Regions from separate parts of the Homo sapiens genome. Here all the other regions are linked to region 2. The links are contacts of gene promoters, found by promoter capture Hi-C in blood cells and fetal thymus (Javierre and others, 2016). All regions are on one chromosome and are shown on one strand. The core of a region is centred on a gene start or on the middle of the fragment in contact, and the rest is flanking DNA. Distances in the headings are between cores, read along the strand shown. Region 1 overlaps RETREG3 (reticulophagy regulator family member 3). Region 2 holds the start of COA3 (cytochrome c oxidase assembly factor 3). Region 3 has its middle 18 kb from the start of AARSD1.

The links. Contacts are between HindIII fragments. The CHiCAGO score rates a contact against its expected background, and 5 or more counts as called.
Region 1: a contact is called between a fragment that was not itself captured here and the fragment with the promoter of COA3 in region 2, in 4 of 17 cell types (endothelial precursors, M2 macrophages, megakaryocytes and 1 more). The highest score is 9.0, in endothelial precursors.
Region 3: a fragment that was not itself captured here is called in contact with the fragment with the promoter of COA3 in region 2 in 4 of 17 cell types (M2 macrophages, M1 macrophages, M0 macrophages and 1 more); the score reaches 7.3 in M2 macrophages.

The regions. Positions count from the first base shown.
Region 1 is chr17:42,597,297-42,601,901 of GRCh38, forward strand. All of the region lies in intron 1 of RETREG3 (reticulophagy regulator family member 3), which reads right to left. Among named protein-coding and RNA genes, the nearest start is that of RETREG3, 9.8 kb to the right of the region's middle. The HindIII fragment of the contact is 4,096 bases long and covers 1-3,392 here.
Region 2 is chr17:42,796,553-42,801,370 of GRCh38, forward strand. It overlaps COA3 (cytochrome c oxidase assembly factor 3), which reads right to left and starts at 2,152. Exons shown (of 2, transcript NM_001040431.3): 1 at 1,916-2,152; 2 at 1,073-1,615. The coding sequence starts at 2,129. The coding sequence ends at 1,509. It overlaps CNTD1 (cyclin N-terminal domain containing 1), which reads left to right and starts at 2,309. Exons shown (of 7, transcript NM_173478.3): 1 at 2,309-2,684. The coding sequence starts at 2,516. WNK4 (WNK lysine deficient protein kinase 4) reads left to right here. Exons shown (of 19, transcript NM_032387.5): 18 at 1-26; 19 at 134-514. The coding sequence ends at 136. RefSeq lists enhancers at 1,835-1,904, 2,045-2,094, 2,115-2,164. The HindIII fragment of the contact is 5,104 bases long and covers 1,027-4,818 here.
Region 3 is chr17:42,943,973-42,948,428 of GRCh38, forward strand. No RefSeq gene overlaps it. Among named protein-coding and RNA genes, the nearest start is that of AARSD1, 18 kb to the right of the region's middle. The HindIII fragment of the contact is 4,442 bases long and covers 1-4,207 here.

The DNA of each region.
Region 1 (4,605 bases), core at 95-2,594, 200 kb before region 2:
TCCTGCCTCAGCCTCCTGAGTAGCTGGGATTACAGGCATGCACCGCTACGCCCAGCTAATTTTTGTATTTTTAGTAGAGACGGGGTTGCACCATGTTAGCCAGGATGATCTCGATCTCCTGACCTTGTGATCCACCCACCTCGGCATCCCAAAGTGCTGGGATTACAGGAATGAGCCACCGCGCCCAGCCAGAATCTATTTTGTGTGTGTGTGTGTGTGTGTGTGTGTATATATATATATATATATTTCGTATATATATTTTTGTGTATATATATATTTTGTGTGTATATATATATATATATATATATATATATATATATATATTTTTTTTTTTTTTTTTTTTTTTTTTTTGAGACAGAGTCTCACTCTGTCACCCAGGCTAGAGTGCAGTGGCACAGATCTCCACTCACTTCAACCTCCGCCTCCAGGGTTCAAGTAATACTCCTGCCTCAGCCTCCTGAGTAGCTGGGGTTAAGGTGTGCGCCACTGCGCCCAGCTAATTTTTGTATTTTTAGTAGAGACGGAGTTTCGTCTTGTTGGCCAGGCTGGTCTCGAATCCCTGATCTCAAGTGATCAGCTCGCCTCAGCCTCCCAAAATGTTGGGATTACAGGCATAAGCCACCGCGCCTGGCCAAGAAACGTTATTTTATACCACAAAGAAAACTCTTCTTCCTCTGAAGTTTTTTTTTTTTTTTTTTTTTTTGAGACGGAGTCTCGCTCTGTTGCCCAGGCTGGAGTACAGTGGTGCGATCTCGGCTCACTGCAAGCTCCATCTCTCGGGTTCATGCCATTCTCCTGCCTCAGCCTCCCGAGTAGCTGGGACTACAGGCGCCCGCCACCACGCCCGGCTAATTTTTTGTATTTTTAGTAGAGACGGGGTTTTACCATGTTAGCTAGGATTGTCTCGATCTCCTGACCTCATGATCCACCCGCCTCAGCCTCCCAAAGTGCTGGGATTACAGACGTGAGCCACCGCACCCGGCCTCTTCCTCTGAAGTTATTATTGTGGCTTGTTCCAAAAAAAGATAAATCTGGGACTAAAATTGATTTATGGACAAGGATTAATCTTGTTATGGAAGATGCTCACAATTTTAGCCTTCAAGACCCAGAAAATATACCCTTTATGAAACTATTGGCTTATCTTCATCTGCAGGATGAAATCCCATTACCCCGTCATAAAAGGGCCTTCATGATCTGGATCCTGCCTCTCTCCCCACACTGATTCCCTCCCTTTGTTTTTTATATTTCAGTTTTATCAAACTACTTGCAATTCCTTAAGTATCTTACTAGATTGGTGTTTTCCCTATCTGAATGTCTTCTCTCTCTTACCACACCTTTCGGCCCCATTTCCTTAACATTTATCTTGCAAATCACAGCTTAGATATCTTCCTGTTTGTTATTATTACCTGTCACGTTATATCGTGAACACAAACACACATGAATTTACTTGAGAGTAAAGTTTGTGTCTTATTTTTTTCTGTAACTGGGCTTCTTACCACAAGGCCTTGGCATGTAACAGGTACTCAAAGGTATGTTGAATTGAATTGAAGCATAGCTTATAAGAATGGAAGGTAAGGGCTGTAACAAGCAATTTAAATAGTCCAGGTCTTAGAAAACAGTCTTTTTTTTTTAATGTTTACCAGTTTATTATAAGGGATATGTTTTTATTGCCATCATCTCTGGAAAACCAACCTTCTTAGGAGAGCTTAATATCCTTTCCCTACCCTAGTTTCTATTTGTGTTAGTAATCGTGCTCTGGGAAGGGGAAATTGCCAACAGTCTGGCAAGCCTCCCTAGAGAGCCCTTTCAAGTACTCTGGAGAAAACAGCGATGCCATGTGCTGCTGCTGGGGAAGGGAAGCAGCAGCACTGGGGAGCAAGAAACCCTAGAGCTCTTCTCCTTGGCCTTGTTAAATGTGCTTGTTTGTTGGGATGATGCACTGGCTTTAGAGAGAAGATCAATGGCCTGAGGCAGCTCTAGAGGCTTATTTCTGTTAAACTGCTTTTATTCTTTAATCTTACATATAGTCACAGTATCCTTTAGGTGGTAGGCTGGAAAAATTGAAATAGGGTTGTTGGCTGGGCACAGTGGCTCATGCCTATAATCCCAGCACTTTGGGAGCCTTAGGTGGGTGGATAACCTGAGATCGGGAGTTTGAGACCAGCCTAGCTAACATGGAGAAACTCCATGTCTATTAAAAATACAAAATTAGCCGGGCGTGGTGGTGTATGCCTGTAATCTCAGCTACTCAGGAGGCTGAGGCAGGACAATCGCTTGAACCCAGGAGGCAGAGGTTGCAGTGAGCTGAGATTGTGCCATTGCATTCCAGCCTGGGTGACAGAGTAAGGCTCCGTCTCAAAAAAAAAAAAAAAAAATTATACAACTAACATGAATTCATGTTTATCGAAAAAAAAGTACAGGCATGGTGGCTCACGTCTGTAATCCCAGCACTTTGGGAAGCCAAGGCAGGTGGATCACCTGAGGTCAGGAGTTCGAGACAAGCCTGGCCAACATGGCGAAACCCCGTCTCTACTAAAAATACAAAAAATTAGCTGGGCATAGTGGCGGGCACCTGTAATCCCAGCTACTCAACAGGCTGAGGTGGGATGACAGCTTGAGTCCGGGAAACTGAGGTTGCAGCGAGCCGTTATCGTGCCACTGTACCCCAGCCTGGGTGACAGAGCGAGACCCTATCTCAAAAAACAAAAAAGCAAAACAGAAAAAACCACCTAAACACTAACAAATTGGTTTGTGGGGAAAAAAAGAGTTTAAAAAAAAAACAACAAATAAAACCACACACAACAGGCCACATGTGGTACCTAAAGCCTGTAATCCCAATACTTTGGGAGGCCGAGGCAGGAGGATCACTTGAGTCAAAGAGTTTGAGACCAGCTTAGGCAACACAGCAAGACCTCATCTCTACTGAAAAGAAAAACATTAGCTAGGTGTGGTGGTGCACGCTTGTACTCCCATTTACTTGGGAAGCTGAGGTGGGAGGATTGCTAGAGCCAGAAGGTTGAGGTTGCAGTGAGCTCTGATTGTGCCACTGCACTCCAGCTTGGGAGACAGAGCAAGACCCTGTCTCGAAAAGAAAAAAAAAAGTATCATTTATGACATTTATAAGAAAATTGGAAATGTGAACACTGACTAGAATCATTAATTTTTTGCATGTGATAATGATGGCAGATGTTTCTTAAAGTCTCTTTTTCAGAAAAATATACTGAAATACCTAGATTAAATGATATGACACATCAATAATTTGTGTCAAACAATAAGGAAGACGTAGAAAAGAACTGGGGTATGGAAGACACAAAATTGGCCAGGAATTGAAAAAAATAATATTATGTACATGGTGGCACACAATATTATTCTGCCTACTTACACATGTTTTAAGCTTTCCATAATAAAATATTTTTAAAATGATCCATTATCCACATATGTACTCTAAAAAGTGTGAAGACAGGCTATTCTCTTCATTAAAAAATTCACATATAAAAACACTATGGTTTTAAAACTTTTTCACATAATACATAGACAATTAGCCTGATGTGGTGATGAACTCCTGTGGTCTCATCAGCCATGAGGTGGAATGATCACTTGAGCTCAGGAGTTCCAGGGTACAGTGAGCCATGATCACACCACTGCAATCTAGCCTGGGTGACAGAGTGAAACCTTCTCTCAAAAAAAACAATGAATGGGCCAGGCGCAGTGGCTCAAACCTGTAATTCCAGCACTTTGGGAGGCTGAAGCAGGTAGATCACTTGACATCAGGAGTTCAAGACCAGCCTGGCCAACATGGTGAAACCCCATCTCTACCTAAAAATACAAAAATTAGCTAGGCATGGTGGCGGGTGCCCGTAATCCCAGCTACTCAGGAGGCTGAGGCAGGAGAACTGCTTGAATCCGGGAGGCGGAGGTTGCAGTGAGCTGAGATTGTGCCACTGCACTCCAGCCTGGGCAACACAGGAAGACTCCATCTCAAATAAAATAAAATAAACTAAGACGGTGGCTCAAGCCTGTAATCCCAACACTTTGGGAGGCTGAGGCAGGCAGATCACGAGATCAGGAGATCGAGACCATCCTGGCTAACACGGTGAAACCCTGGCTCTACTAAAAAATACAAAAAATTAGCCGGGAGTGGTGGTGGGCGCCTGGAGTCCCAGCTACTCGGGAGGCTGAGGCAGGAGAATGGCGTGAACCTGAGAGGCGGAGCTTGCAGTGAGCCGAGATCGCGCCACTGCACTCCAGCCTGGGCAACAGACAGAGCGAGACTCTCTCAAAAAAAAAAAAGAAAAGAAAAATAAACGAAAAATAAACTAAGAAGGTTCCAACTTTTTTTTTTTTTTTTTTTTTGAGACGGAGTCTTGCTCTTGTTGCCCAGGCTGGAGTGCAGTGGCGCGATCTCGGGTCACCACAACCTCTGCCTCCCAGGTTCAACGGATTCTCCTGCCTCAGCCTCCCAAGGTAGCTGGGATTACAGGCATGCGCCACCATGCCCGGCTGATTTGGCATTTTTAGTAGAGATGGGGTTTCTCCATTGTTGGTCAGGCTGGTCTTGAATTCCCGACCTTAGGTGACCTGCCTGCCTCGGCCTCCCAAAGTGCT
Region 2 (4,818 bases), core at 902-3,401:
CATTCGCCGGGGATGTTGGCAGGATGGTGAGGGCGGGCCCAAGGGAGGGAGAGCCCAGGGAATGGTACCTGGCTGCAGCTTCGCCTTCCTCCCACCTTGGAGGTTTCTTCATCACTTTTTCTTTTCCCTCCAGTGAATTCAGAACAGAAGCCATGTATCTCCCCCACACCAGGGCCCACCATGGAGCTTGTGTTCTCAGAATCTGATGCTTTCTGATCAACAAAACTGAGCAAGGAAGATCCCAACACTGAAGGGGTAGAAGGCCAGGGGGGCATGGAGAGTGCAGCTCCATTATAGTGAAGAGCCAAACATATGTGAACTGTTTGCTGTGTGGAGGTGTTAGTTCTGCTGCCTACCATCTTCATCTCTAGCACCTCCCCTGCCAAGAGTCAACCACTAAGCAATCCCACCCAAGCCTGGATGCTTCTAGAGGGGCCCACTCCCAGCTGGGAGAGTGTAGGGGATATGCTCACACCACATTAGCAGCAACCAATAAAAATGCTGGAAACAAGAACGCCGTGAATCCATATGCCATGCCTTAGGAATTGGGGGAGCAAAGACTTGTGGGGTGAGGCAGGGGAGGATTTAAAAGGGACTTTCTTTTCACAATGGGAGGCAGGGGTGGAAGCTGCCCAGCCCTCTGGCTTCCTGCCATCAGTTAATGAGGAAACTGCAAGGTCAGTGATCCACTTGACTAAGTTAGGATCCCCTCCAGACCCCACCCTAGACCTGTATAGGCAGGTACCAGGGAAAGTTAAAAGAATGAAGACTGCTTGTCTTTCACCCTTCATCCACCTCTCTCTCCCTCCCTCTCTCTGGGGATGGGAAAAGCAGTAGAGTTACAGTATGTTCTTGTGGGTAGAGGACAGAAGAGTGACCTTCCTTCCCCTAAGACGTGGGTTCAGTCTCAAACTGCCCAGTGATCTCTCCCTTAAATCAGGTGGAAAGATCTCATGGAAAAAGTAATTCTAGTTAAACATTTACAGCTCCCTGGGGCAATGCCACCACTGCAGCTACTGCTTGTGAAGCTTTCCAGCATGAAGTGCCATATGCTGCCTCTCAGCCTCCATACTCACTTGACTCCAGGAGAATGACTCAGTTTATTATTCTCAATTTGACCCTATGTATCCCACTGTAGGCTCAAACACTGCACAGAGCTGCCACGTCTAACCTCGTAACAACTGCGTCCCTGGAAGGTGAAGGGGGTAAACCACAAAGTCAGAAACTTTGGGAAAAGCCACGGTCGCATGCACACCTCTCAAACAAGGAAACAAACTACAAGAAAGGGCTCAGTCATTGTACACAGCAAGTGTGCAGTGGGCAAAGTTCTGTTCTTTTGACATTGGCCAAATGCGTAAGTCCCTGGTTTCTTGGGCTCAATCACGGTCCAAGGTTAGTAAGAAGGCCAACAATGTTGTGAGCAGGATTCAATTTCTACAGGGTCATGGGGCATCATCCACCATGTGAAGGGGCTCCAGCAGGTTGGACATGATCAATACCCATCCAGATTAGGACCCTGACGCCCTTGCCAGAGCTCGGGCTCGGGCAGCTTTGGCCTCGTCTTCTAGCTCATCTAGGAAACGCTCCTGGGAAATCGAGTAGAAGGTGTAACCATCTGGGGAGGTAGGTTCAGGAAACCACACAGAATATGCACATTCCCCTTTCCTAGATTTGCTCTACCACTCTTGTTACTCTCCCAAATCAGTGATTCCGGCTTCCCGCCGCTGCTGTTTCTAAACCCTGAACCCCAATTCCGTTATTATTAATAAATCAAATTAAAAGAGTACCTTAGGAATAACAAAGGAAAGTACTACCCATTTTACCCCAAAATTAAACGGGTGGTTCAGCCCTCTTGCACACTCTGTTCCCCTGCCCCTATATGCGGTCCCCTTGAGTCTACAACACGGACGGATACAAATAGCCAACACCAGGGCCCCGATGCCTAGGCCGGTCACGATGTTCCGGGTTCGCCGCCGTGGTAGGACCTTCTGCCACTGGGCAAGCTCCGCCTGCCGCATGGAATGCAGTTGCTCGGGTGTCAGCTTCTCCCGAGTCGGGTCGATACGCTGAGCGAACGGGGCCTCTCCACGCTTAGAATCCAGAGGGTCACCAGCTCCCGAAGACGCCATGTTGCCACTCCTCCCTTCGCGGTGCCGCCGCGCGGGCCTCGCTGGGAACAGTAGCCCTTGGCCGCTGCAGTGGACTCTGGGAGTTGTAGTCCGCGTGCCCTTTGCGGGGCAGAGCCGCGGTTCCCGGGCACAGGGGATGGACGCGGGAGGTGAGAAGCGGACGTGCTTTCTGATTGGCTGAGGAGTCCGTGGCCGTTGGGGCGGGAAAAAGCTGTGGAGGGTTCGAGGCTGTGGTGGTAATTGGGTTTTCCTCAGACTTGAGGCGACGACACACTCATTGGAAGGGGACGAGGAATCCAGGGTGTGGCAGAAGACTGGAGAGGAGCTAAGGGGGTCGGTATGTGGATCCAGTGAACCCGTCCAGGTGCCCCAAGAGGCTCGTGAATATGGACGGACCCATGAGGCCACGATCGGCCTCCCTCGTTGACTTTCAGTTTGGAGTTGTCGCCACAGAGACGATTGAAGACGCCCTGCTTCACTTGGCCCAGCAGAATGAGCAAGCAGTGAGGGAGGCTTCGGGGCGGCTGGGCCGCTTCAGGGAGCCCCAGATCGTGGGTGCGGCTGCAGGGCCGGGGTGCTGGGTTCTTGGGAGACTGGGGCTTGTGTCTTTCAGGCACCGACCTTGAGATTCCGTTGATTTTATTCATTCAGAGAATGTTTGCTAACACCTCTCTGTGGGGTGCTGGGGATATAGTGATGGATAAGTCACAACAGTGCCCTCCCCTTGATTTCTTCGACATGTATGGAATACTTGAGTGGCACCGCTTGGCTAGAAAGATGAAATAGAGGGCCAGGCATGGTGGCTTACACCTGTAATCCCAGCACTTTGGGAGGCTGAGGTGGGAGGTTCACCTGAGGTCAGGAGTTCGAGACCAGCCTGACCAACATGGTGAAATCCTGTCTCTACTAAAAGTACAAAAATTAGCCAGGACTGGTGGCGCGCACCTCTAATCCCAGCTACTCGGGAGGTTGAGACAGGAGAACTGTTTGAACCCAGGAGGCGGAAGTTGCAGTGAGCCGAAATCGTGCCATTGCACTTCAGCCTAGACGACAAGAATGAAACTCCGTCTCAAAAAAAAAAAAAAAAAAAAAAAAAAAAAAAGGCTGGGCGCGGTGGCTCACGCCTGTAATCCCAGCATTTTGGGAGGCTGAGGCGGGCAGATCACGAGGTCAGGAGATCGAGACCATCCTGGCTAACATGGTGAAACCCCGTCTCTACTAAAAATACAAAAAAAAGCCGGGTGTGGTGGCGGGCGCCTGTAGTCCCAGCTACTCCGGAGGCTGAGGGAGGAGAATGGCATGAACCCGGGAGGCGGAGCTTGCAGTGAGCTGAGATGGCGCCACTACACTCCAGCCTGAGTGACGGGTGACAGAGCGAGACTCTGTCTAAAAAAAAAAAAAAAAAAAAAGAGAAAAGAAAGATGAAATAGAGATAGAGGTCTTGCCTTCAAACCATGTGCAATTTGGGGGAGATATTAGAACAAATATGCAATGACTAGGTACTATGGTTAGATAAGAGACGTCAGAGAGAAATAAAACAAGCGTTTATGGGGGTTGAGAGGAGCGATGGGGTAATAGGAAGAATTCAGGGGATGGCCCAGGCATCGGGACATTTCAGGCAGACCTTGAAGGAAGGAGGACATTGGGTTGGTGAAGGGGGAGGAAGGAGACAGTGTTTCTACCAAAAAGAGGTAGCATGAGTAAAGCTATGGAAATGGGGTGCTTAGGGTGCATGTGGGTACAGTGTAGTCCATGTTGGCCAGTGCATGTGGAAGAATAGTTGAAATTAATACTGGAAAGGTAGTTTGGAGACATTCCATGTGGAAGTTTGAATGCCAAGGGGAAGAGTTTATCCTTGGTTTGGTAGGAAACCAAGAAGACATTGAAGGTTTTTAAATAAGGGAGTGAAGGTTTTAAAATAAGGGATACGATGGTAACCCTGCCTTAGTAAACATTATTTTGGCAGTGATGTAAAGGAGGTAAAGGATGGATTAAACCAGAGGGAGATGGGATGTAGGCAGACAGGTAGAGTCAATGTCAGTAGGCTAGGTGATAGGGCAGAGGGAATAACAAGGGAGGGTGGATTAAAAACATTCTAGAGGCAAAGTCTAGGGTTCTGCTGTGGATAAATTTAGGAAGTGAAGGAGGAAAACGTGACTATGCTAAACGGTTGAGCCTGGAAGACTGGAAGTATAGTGGTCATTAAAAGAAACACACAGACACGGCCGGGCACGGTGGCTCACGCCTGTATTCCCAACACTTTGAGAGGCTGAGGCGGGTGGATCACGAGGTCAGGGGTTCGAGACCAGCCTGGCCAACATAGTGAAACCCTGTCTCTATTAAAAACACAAAAATTAGCTGGGCATGGTGGCAGGCACCTGTAGTCCCAGCTACTCGGGAGGCCGAGGCAGGGGAATGGCTTGAACCTGGGAGGCGGAGGTTGCAGTGAGCCAAGATTGTGCCACTGCGCTCCAGCCTAGGCCACAGAGCAAGACTCTGTCTCCCAAAAAAAAAAAAAACAACAACAAAAAAAAACAACACAAAAAACACAGACACACTACATAAATAAAGCAGGAGGAAAAGTGACTTTTGTTTGGGAAAGATAATAATGGCTTTGGAGCCTGGCCAACATGGTGAAACCCCATCTCTACTAAAAATACAAAAATTAGCCAGGCATGGTGGCAGGTAC
Region 3 (4,456 bases), core at 737-3,236, 150 kb after region 2:
TGGTGGCGCACACCTGTAGTCCCAGATACTTGGGAGGCTGAGCCAGGAGAATCTCTTGTACCCGAGAGGCAGAGGTTGCAGTGAGCCAAGATTGTGCCGCTTCTCTCCAGCCTGGGTGAAAGAATGAGACTCCATCTCAAAAAAAAAAAAAAAAATTGTGTTGTCTATTAAACTATGTTTGCTTTATTTCAGATGGCCTGGATGCTGGAAATTATGAGAAAACTAAATCCTCCCCCAGCCTCCTTTGACAACACCACTACCCTCTCCTACCCTCTTCCTCCCATTATTCTCTATTCGTTTACCTGCTCTCTTCCTCTCAGATTCAACAGAATTTATACTTTTACATGTATTGGATTGTTTCTTTCTTATCTTCCTTCTCCACAGCTGTAAATGCCATAACAGGGACCACGGCCAGATTACTCACCAGTGTGGCCCCAGTGCTGGGTACAATGCTTGGCACACACTACACTCTCAATAAACATCTGTCGTATAAACAAATGAATTCTGTGATTATGTATCATATGCACAAGTCAACAACAACACAAGTTATGTATTATGAAAGGGAGAACTTGCATTTTCACAGAAGAAAATGTTGATTCCTCCCTTCTTTTCTGAAACACTTGGCCTCTTAAATAATTAACTAATTTTAATTGATACATATAAAATTGTAGGCCAGGCACAATGGCTCACGCCTGTAATCCCAGCACTTTGGGAGGCTGAGGCGGGTGGATCACCTGAAGTCAGGAGTTCGAGACCAGCCTGGTGAACATGGTGAAACCCTGTCTTTACTAAAAATACAAAAATTAGCTGGGCATGGTGGTGGGTGACTGTGATCCCAGCTACTCGGGAGGCTGAGGCAGGAGAATCGCTTGAACCCAGGACAAGGAGGTTGCCGTGAGCTGAGATCATACCACTGCACTCCAGCCTGGGCGACAAGAGCGAAACTCCGTCTCAAAAAAAAAAAACTACTCTCTTTGCAATTTTCAAGAATACAATACATTAGTTTTCAGTGGTTTTGTTTTTTTGAGATTGAGTCTTGCTCTTTTGCCTAGGCTAGAGGGCAGTGGCACAATCTCGGCGCAATCTCGGCTCAGCAACCTCTGACTCCGGAGTTCAAGTGATTCTCCTGCCTCAGCCTCCTGAGTAGCTGGGACTACAGGTGTGTGCCACCATGCTCAGCTAATTTTTGTATTTTTAGTAGAGATGGAGTTTCACCATGTTGGCCAGGCTGGTCGCGAACTCCTGACCTCAAGTGATCTATCTGCCTCAGCCTCCCAAAGTGCTGGGATTACAGGCATGAGCCACCACGCCTGGCCTAATACATTGTTATTAAACACCTATAGTCATTGTGTAGTACTACAGTTATCTTAAATTTATTTCTCCTATCTTGGCCAACCAAGGTGGCTCAGGCCTGTAATCCCAGAACTTCGGGAGGCCAAGGCAGGAAGATCACTTGAGCTCAAGAGTTCAAGACAAGCCTAGGCAACATGGCAAGACCCTGTCTCCACAAAAGTAGAAAAAGTAGCCAGGTGCGGTGGTGTGTGCTTGTAGTCCCAGCTACTCAGGAGGCTGAAGTGGGAGGATCGCTTGAGCCCAGGAAAGTCGAGGCTGCAATGAGACAAGATTTCCATTGCACTCCAGCCCAGGAAACAGAGTAAGACCTTGTCTAAAAAAAAAAAAAAAGCAAACAAGCCCACAAGCAGACAAAAAAAAAAAAAAAAAATCAAAAAACTTATTCCTCCTATCTAACTAAAAGTGTGTATCCTTTGACCAACAACTCCTCAACCCCTCTCCCTCCTCCAAACTCTTGGCTTTGAGGTTGGTGTTTTAAAATGAACAGGGATATTTACTAACAGGCCTCTGCCACAGGTCACTTCTGCAGGGAGTTTATGGCTCAGCAAAAGAGAAAGCTGTCCCTGTGAGAGCCTCTTCTGCTCCAGACACAACTCCAGGTCAGTTAACTAAGTCCTACTTATTCCTTAGTTTGAAGCCTGGCACTCTGCCTGTAGTATTTTGCACAGAAGATACAGACCTTTCTAAAGAAAGAAGGAAATTCCTCCATCACTCGTTCCCAAACATCCCTACTTGCCCTCTGTTGAGAACACTAGTCATAGTTTGGATCAAATTCAGGAAAGGAATGGGAGACAGAGACGCTTTCTGAAAAAGATTTTTTTCATTAGGGCAAACACTGTCTGTTTTCCTTTTGGTACCAGGTTTTAAATAAACCCTAGAGTTTATTTAAGTTCTCATTCAGGGACAGATCTGGCATTCTAGCACAGCTTGGCCGACTCACTGGTTTCCACTCAGGACTCCAAGGCAGGGTGGAGCACAGGACACTGGCACAATGCCTTCCTGAATTCAGTCTGTGTGTGTTTGTTGTTGTTGTTGTTGTTGTTGTTGTTTTTGAGACGGAGCTTTGCTCTTGTTGCCTAGGCTGGATGGAGTGCAACGGCGCGATCTTGGCTCACTGCAACCTCCGCCTCCCGGGTTCAAGCAATTCTCCTACCTCAGCCTCCAGAGTAGCTGGGATTGCAGGCATGCGCCACCACACTTGGCTAATTTTGTATTTTTAGTAGAGGCGGGGTTTTTCCCATGTTGGTCAGGCTGATCTCAAACTCCCGACCTCAGGTGATCCACCTGCCTCAGCCTCCCAAAGTGTTGGGATTACAGGCATGAGCCACAGCGCCGGCCCTGAATTCAGTCTGTCTACTGCTCTGGGTCTCTTCCACCTGATACCTTTCATCTTTCATACTAACATCTGTTCTAGTACCTACATGCATCACCTTAGTGGAAGCTACAGCAGCTGTCTTCAGCAATTTATGGGTACGCACATAAAAAAATTTCCTTAGAAGCCAAGGAGTCCCCCTTACTATTTCTGTGCCGTAAAGTGGGTTATAGTAACATTCCAGAATATATAACCTGTGTGTGTACCTAAAACTTGATTACTCCAATAAATGAACTCATTTTGTTTCCTGGTGAACCTCATAAAAGACAATCCACCCCTTCCCCTGAACACACTCTGTTCTTCTCCCCCTCTCCCTGGGGCATTGGATTAGGGCCTCAGTGACAGGCAAGAATGACATCACCAGTTCAAAAACTGCTGCTTTATTTTCTCTTTCTTTATACAACCAATTACCATTTTCACATAATTTGCTCAAGTGTTTATGGCTTTTCTTAATTATTTCATAAGGTTCCTTCCTTCTTAGGACACCCAGTTCATGTGTCCATTTTCAGGTCAAGAAACTGAAGCTCAGGGAGTCTCAGCAGGGGGACCAGACATCCAGGCTACCTTAACACCGTCTGGGTTTCTGACTGTTGTTCTGGCATGAGGTTTGCCTAACTCTGGATATTAAAATTACATGGTTGCTCTAGGTCTAAGTGACAAGAACCCACCTGAGTGGTAGTGAGCAAGAGTGGCCTCCCAGGTCACTGTTCTTGTTGTTGCACCTGTGTTCTGAATCTTTGTGTACCCCTAAAAATTCATATGTTGAAATCCTAACCCCCTAAGTGGTATCAGGAGGTGGGCCCTTTAGCAGGTGATTAGGTCACGGGGGCAGAGCCTTCGTGAATGAAATTAGTGCATTATAAAAGAGGCCCGAGAGGGCTGGGTGCGGAGGCTCATGCCTGTAATCCCAGCACTTTGGGAGGCTGAGGCAGGCGGATCACCTGAGGTCAGGAGTTCGAGACCAGCCTGGCCAACATGGTGAAACCCCATCTCTACTAAAAATACAAAATATTAGCTGGGTGGGATGGCAGGCGCCTGTAATCCCAGCTACTCGGGAGGCTGAGGCAGGAGAATCACTTGAACCTAGGGGGTGGAGGTTGCAGTGAGCTGAGATTGCACCATTGCACTTCAGCCTGAGCAACAAGAGTGAAACTCCATCTGTCTCAAAAAAAAAAAAAAAAAAAAAAGGCCCAAGAAAGACCCCTTACCCTTTGCACCAAGGGTGCAAAAAGATGGCTATTCCTGAACCAGTATTTGAACCTTCACACCAGACACTGAATTTGCCAGCTTCCCAGCCTCCACTGTGAGAAATACATTTTTGTTGTTTATAAGCTACCTAGTTTTTGTTATTATAGCAGTCAGATCAGACTAAGGCACACCCTAAAGAAACAAACACAGAGAGGGACAGAGATCTCACACAGAGACAAATTCACATGGGTCTCTGTTCAAGATCCTGCCTGAGTCCTTCTACAAAAGTAAGGAAGCTTCTGTGAAGCAAACATTTCCCTTTCTCCCACTAATGGACCCATTTTGTATAGCATGAGTGTTACACTATGGTTTTATCTAAAACATGGCACTCTGAGAAAAGCAAGATGCAGAAGAGTATACAATGTGCTACCATTTATGTTTAAAAAGAGGGAAGATTTATGTACATCTATTTTTTAAAATACTACCAGAGGGATATATAAGAAATTGGTAACAGGCTGGGCATGGTGGCTCACGCCTGTAATC